2 separate regions of the Homo sapiens genome follow, and region 1 is linked to region 2. The links are contacts of gene promoters, found by promoter capture Hi-C in blood cells and fetal thymus (Javierre and others, 2016). All regions are on one chromosome and are shown on one strand. The core of a region is centred on a gene start or on the middle of the fragment in contact, and the rest is flanking DNA. Distances in the headings are between cores, read along the strand shown. Region 1 overlaps PDCD5 (programmed cell death 5). Region 2 holds the start of WDR88 (WD repeat domain 88).

Region 1 (2,714 bases), core at 96-2,595, 550 kb after region 2:
GGGCGAAGGACATGAACAGACACTTCTCAAAAGAAGACATTTATGCAGCCAAAAAACACATGAAAAAATGCTGACCATCACTGGCCATCAGAGAAATGCAAATCAAAACCACAATGAGATATCATCTCACACCGGTTAGAATAGCAATCATTAAAAAGTCAGGAAACAACAGGTGCTGGAGAGGATGTGGAGAAATAGGAACACTATTACACTGTTGGTGGGACTGTAAACTAGTTCGACCATTGTGGAAGTCAGTGTGGCAATTCCTCAGGGATCTAGAACTAGAAATACCATTTGACCCAGCCATCCCATTACTGGGTATATACCCAAAGGACTATAAATCATGCTGCTATATAGACACATGCACATGTATGTTTATTGCGGCACTATTCACAATAGCGAAGACTTGGAACCAACCCAAATGTCCCACAATGATAGACTGGATTAAGAAAATGTGGCACATATACACCATGGAATACTATGCAGCCATAAAAAATGATGAGTTCATGTCCTTTGTAGGGACATGGATGAAATTGGAAATCATCATTCTCAGTAAACTATCGCAAGAACAAAAAACCAAACACCGCATATTCTCACTCATAGGTGGGAACTGAACAATGAGAACACATGGACACAGGAAGGGGAACATCACACTCTGGGGACTCTTGTGGGGTGGGGGGAGGGGGGAGGGATAGCATTGGGAGATATACCTAATGCTAGATGACAAGTTAGTGGGTGCAGCGCACCAGCATGGCACATGTATACATATGTAACTAACCTGCACATTGTGCACATGTACCCTAAAACTTAAAGTATAATAACAAAAATAAAAATAAAAAAAGCTTTTGGTAGGAAGGGGAAAAATTCAAAACACAGATCTGGCCACTTGGCTATGATACTAAAACAACTTACCCAAATGTTTTATTTTGCATAACAAGTTTATTTTTTTAAAAGGCATATAGACAATAAACAAAGTAAATAATCAGATCTTAACTTCTGTCCTAGACTTGTTCCGTTAAGTTCTAGTCTGTGAGCACTTGTAGTTCAATAATCGTCATCTTCATCAGAGTCCATTACTTTTCTTCTGTTGAACTGGGAGGAAAATTAAATGAGTGTCAGAACATTTCTAATAAAGCATAACTCAGATTTTCCGAGAAAAGATTTCTACCAATTTTAGCAAGACATTTGTGTCTTTAAAGCAACTTAGCGTGAACTAAAAGGGTGGGAATGGAGTCAAGAGCCTATAAAAATTAGAACCCTCCCCCAACAGATTCAGCCTTTCTCCCCAAACTTTCACGTGTTTGACAAAAGGAAAATGTCTCTGGGCTGAAAAATATGTGTGGTAGATGTATACTCAACATTAATCTTTAAAGTATCCATCTTTTCATTTGCCACAAGCATCTGGGGACACTTACTTTCACTGTTGTTGTCTTTTCTGTTTGTTGGCTTACTTTTTTAAGGATTTCTATTAAACCTTGTTCTGATACCTAGGAGAACCAGAAAAGATAAGAAAAACAGTACTTTTTTAAACAAAGAATTTACCTCTGCAGATGGAATCACTTTGTACTCTTTTTGAGGTGTGGGGAAAGAGCTCAGGAAGGAAGCAGTGGTGAGGCAGGAGGTTGAAACTATTGGTTATAACTATTGGTTTAAGTTCCAAATAAAATTTGCTCTGCTATTCCTCACTTGAGAAGGAGGGGGAAGTATCCATAAAATTGCTTCCTCAGGAAAACTGAAAGCTAACATATTTAAGAACACCTTTATCATCACTAGCTGAGTGTGACAACCACATATACCACGGTGTTTGGTGTCAGGAATAGACACACCACTTCTGCCCGAGAAGCTTAAACATCCCCTTGAAGGAGGTAAGTCACACTCGGAAAAGATCAACCCAACCAGCTCTCTCCCACACAAGCAGTTCTCAGTGTGAGGGGTTTAGGGGACAGGACCAATTCGGGTAGGCTGTGGTGGTAGCAGACGGCTTCTCAGGGCAGGTGGGGTTCGTCTTGATCTCAAAGGCCAGGTTTGCCACAACATACCCCTCATGGTATTACAGCAACACAGAGAACATAAGCAAGGCATCTTAGCACCTTCTCATCTGCAAAACACACCTTCTACTTACACTGGTAGTATTTTAATTGGTGTTACTGACAAACCTTGCTTCCAGTGCAGGGGCAATTGAAGCTAGCTGACCCTAACAGTCATTGGGTCACAGACACCAACAAGGTTCCAGAGCAACGCCAGGAAAGGAGCGAAGCAGAGGAATTTAGGAAAGGCAATTTATTCTCTTTTAAAGTAGGTATGACTATTCTCTCCAACAATTTCTTCTGAGAGTCAGCAAGAATTCTGTAATCCAGTGAAGATGCAGCTGACCTTTTGAAGCCATGTTTTGATAAAGCAGGTAACAGTAAAGTTCCTCAAGGCTGTCTAAGCTTACCTTCTCACTTAGTTGTCCATATCTTGCCATCTGTATAAGGTAATTCTCTACTGCTTTAGTTTTTTCAGGCTTTACAAGTGCTAAGTTACTTACTAAAAAGAAAAAATACATATGCAAAAAATCCATTAAAATCAAATGCACTTATGTTATACCTTAAAACTATGCATTGACCTTTCCAAAGCACTTCACAAGCTTGTCCCTCAGTGTAGGGCAAGACAGTATTGTTACTCCTCTTAAAAATGAGAAAACTGAAGTTCACCCATGCCAATCTCCACAT
Region 2 (2,826 bases), core at 244-2,743:
CTGCATGTGAGTGCAATAAATCAAGGCCAAGCATGAAACGCTACTTATTGAGAATGTTCTTTATTGGGTTTTTGTTTTGTTTTGTTTTTGAGATGGAGTGAGATGATCTCAGCTCACTGCAACCTCTGCCTCCCGGGTTCAAATGATCTTGCTGCCTCAGCCTCCTGAGTAGCTGGGATTACAGGCACGCACCACCATGCCTGGCTAATTTTTGCATTTTTAGTAGAGAAAGGGTTTCACCATGTTAGCCAGGCTGGTCTCGAACCCTTGACCTCAAGTGATCTGCTCATCTCGGCTTCCCAAAGTGCTGGGATTACAGACATGAGCCACTGCACCCAGCCAGTTTTTCTTTCTTTCTCCTTCTTTCTTTCTTTTTCTTTTTCTTTCTTTCTTTCTCTCTCTCTCTCTATATTTATTTATTTATTTATTTATTTATTTATTTATTTATTCTGGAGACAGTCTCGCTCTGTTGCCCAGGCTGGAGTGCAGTGGCACAATCATAGCTCACTGCAGCCTTAAACTCCTGGGTTCAAGGGATCCTCTTGCCTCAGCCTTTCAAGTGGCTGGGACCACAGGTGCGCCCCATCACACTGGGCTAAGTTTATTTCTTGTAGAGACGACCTCTCACTATGTTGCCCAGGCTGGTCTCAAACTCCTGGGCTCAAGTGATCCTCCCACCTGGGCCTCCCAAAGGGCTGGGATTACAGGTGTGAGCCACCTTGCCTGGCCCAATTCATTGTTGTTATTATTATTCTGAGTTTCCCGTTTCTTCTGACGCTAACTGTATCTCCTGGACGGGGAGAGCTGAGCCACCGACCCTTGGGCTGCAATTAGGAGCATCACTGTGGGTGGGCCTACCTACGGAGACTCCAAGGTCTAGATGGGGTCACATGGTGGGGCAGAGCCTCCTCCCAGCGAAGAGTCCTGGTTCCCCAGCAGGTGGCAGTGCGGGGAGCCCCCGCCGGCATCCCCAGCACGCCCTGCTCAGGTGGGTCTGACCTTTGCCCACAGATGTACCACAGATGGGGAAATGGGCCTAGGGCCTCGCTGGGGGTCCTGGTGAAGCCAGGTGGGTTTTCCATGGGTCCCCCGACAGCTCGAGCGCCTTCCTCCCGTGTGGGGAACAGGCCAGTGCCCCCTCACCCCAGCGGCGGTTCTGACCTTGGAGAGAGGGTCCTGGTCGCCCCAGATCAATTTCTCCGGCACCTGGTGCTTCTCAGGCAACAGATGCGGTGGTGGTTCCCTGTCCAAGGCCAGGGGGTCGAGGGTGGCCAGCAGGTGCGTGTGCGGGATCGACAGCTTGAAGCGGCCTAAGGCCCTCGCCATGGTCCCCCAGGACAGCTTGCCGGGACAATACTCGCTGGCGGGGGCGGAGGGTGGCGGCAACTTGCATTCCCTGTCATGGGCTGTCGGGGAGCACCGCGGCGGGGAGGCCATCTCGAAGCCCGGTCCGCCGGTGGCCGCCGACAAGCCTGGATGGGAACGGTGGCGCCGCGCGCCCGCGCCCGCGCCCGCACCAAGCCCTTCGGAGGCGCGCGCTACGCTGGGCCCGCGACTTCGCTGCCTCCTCGCCCGCTGGGTGAAAACTAGTGCCACCCCGCGCAGCACAGGTTACCTATAGAAAAATGGGCTTTGCAGCCGGGCGCGGTGGCTCACGCCTGTAATCCCGGCACTTTGGGAGGCCGAGGCGGGCGGATTACCTGAGGTCAGGAGTTGGAGACCAGCCTGGCCAACAGGTTTAGTGAAACCCCATCTTTACTTAAAAAAAATAATAACAAAAATTAGCCAGGCATGGGGGCGTGCGCCTGTAGTTCCAGCTACATGGGAGGCTGAGGCAGGGGAATGGCTTGAACCCAGGAGGTGGAGGTTGCAAAAAAAAGAAAAATGGGCTTTGCATTCTGGGAACCAGGCCGAGCCAGCAAAACCAGCACCCCAGCCTCCAGCCCTCCGCTGTGGTTTCCCTGGCTCCTGTCACAGGGCAATTTCTTCATGTCCTCTGCCTGGGTACAGCTCCTGGCCAACCCACTTCATGACAAAACAGAAAAGGTCAGTAAGTTATGGGGTAGCCCCTGCATGAAATAAGATGCAGTTATTAGGGGTGGGTTTACAACATTTATAATAGATGAGGGAAATATCTGTCACAACCCCAACAACAGTGACAGGGAATAAAATGCTACCACCAGTCAGATAACAGCCCCATAGCTAGAAAAGGACAGGGTGGAATTATTCAAAATATTGAAGAAGGGTGTCATCTTTGGATGATAAAACTAAAAGTGATTTTCTTCCTTCTTTTTTTTTTTTTTTTTTTTTGGTGGAGACAAGAGTCTGTCACCCAGGCTGGATTGCAGTAGCGCAATTTCGGCTCACTGCAACCTCCACCTCCAGGGTTCAAAGGATTCTCGTGCCTCAGCCTCCCACACAGCTGGGATTACAGGTGTATGCTCACCAGACCTGGCTAATTTTTTTGTATTTTTAGTAGAGACAAGGTTTCGCCATGTTGGCCAGGCTGTTTTTGAACTCCTGGCCTCAAGTGATCCGCTGGCCTCGGCCTCCCAAAGTGCTGGGATTACAAGCATGGGCCACCGCACCCGGCCTCTTCCTTCTTTCTGCTTTTAAAATTGTTGTGATCTATGATGCTACTTTCATAATGTAAAATACAAATGCTCAATACTTTATTTTTTGTGGAGACAGGGGTCTCTATGTGGCCCAGGCTGGTCTGGAATTCCTGGGCTCAAGCAATCCTCCCGCCTCGGCCTCCCAAAGCTCTGGGATTACAGGCATTAGCCATCACACCTGGTCTGCACTTTATTTTTCAAAAAGGTCTCC

Evidence for each region. The method cuts DNA at HindIII sites, captures the fragments that hold promoters and counts their contacts. A CHiCAGO score of 5 or more calls a contact.
Region 1: a fragment that was not itself captured here is called in contact with the fragment with the promoter of WDR88 in region 2 in 1 of 17 cell types (naive CD4 T cells); the score reaches 5.3 in naive CD4 T cells.

The regions. Positions count from the first base shown.
Region 1 is chr19:32,585,631-32,588,344 of GRCh38, reverse strand. It overlaps PDCD5 (programmed cell death 5), which reads right to left. Exons shown (of 6, transcript NM_004708.4): 4 at 2,438-2,529; 5 at 1,416-1,487; 6 at 892-1,092. The coding sequence ends at 1,045. Among named protein-coding and RNA genes, the nearest start is that of PDCD5, 5.8 kb to the right of the region's middle. The HindIII fragment of the contact is 1,001 bases long and covers 845-1,845 here.
Region 2 is chr19:33,130,781-33,133,606 of GRCh38, reverse strand. It overlaps WDR88 (WD repeat domain 88), which reads right to left and starts at 1,493. Exons shown (of 11, transcript NM_173479.4): 1 at 1,162-1,493. The coding sequence starts at 1,437. RefSeq lists an enhancer at 1,487-1,656. The HindIII fragment of the contact is 21,697 bases long and covers 1-2,826 here.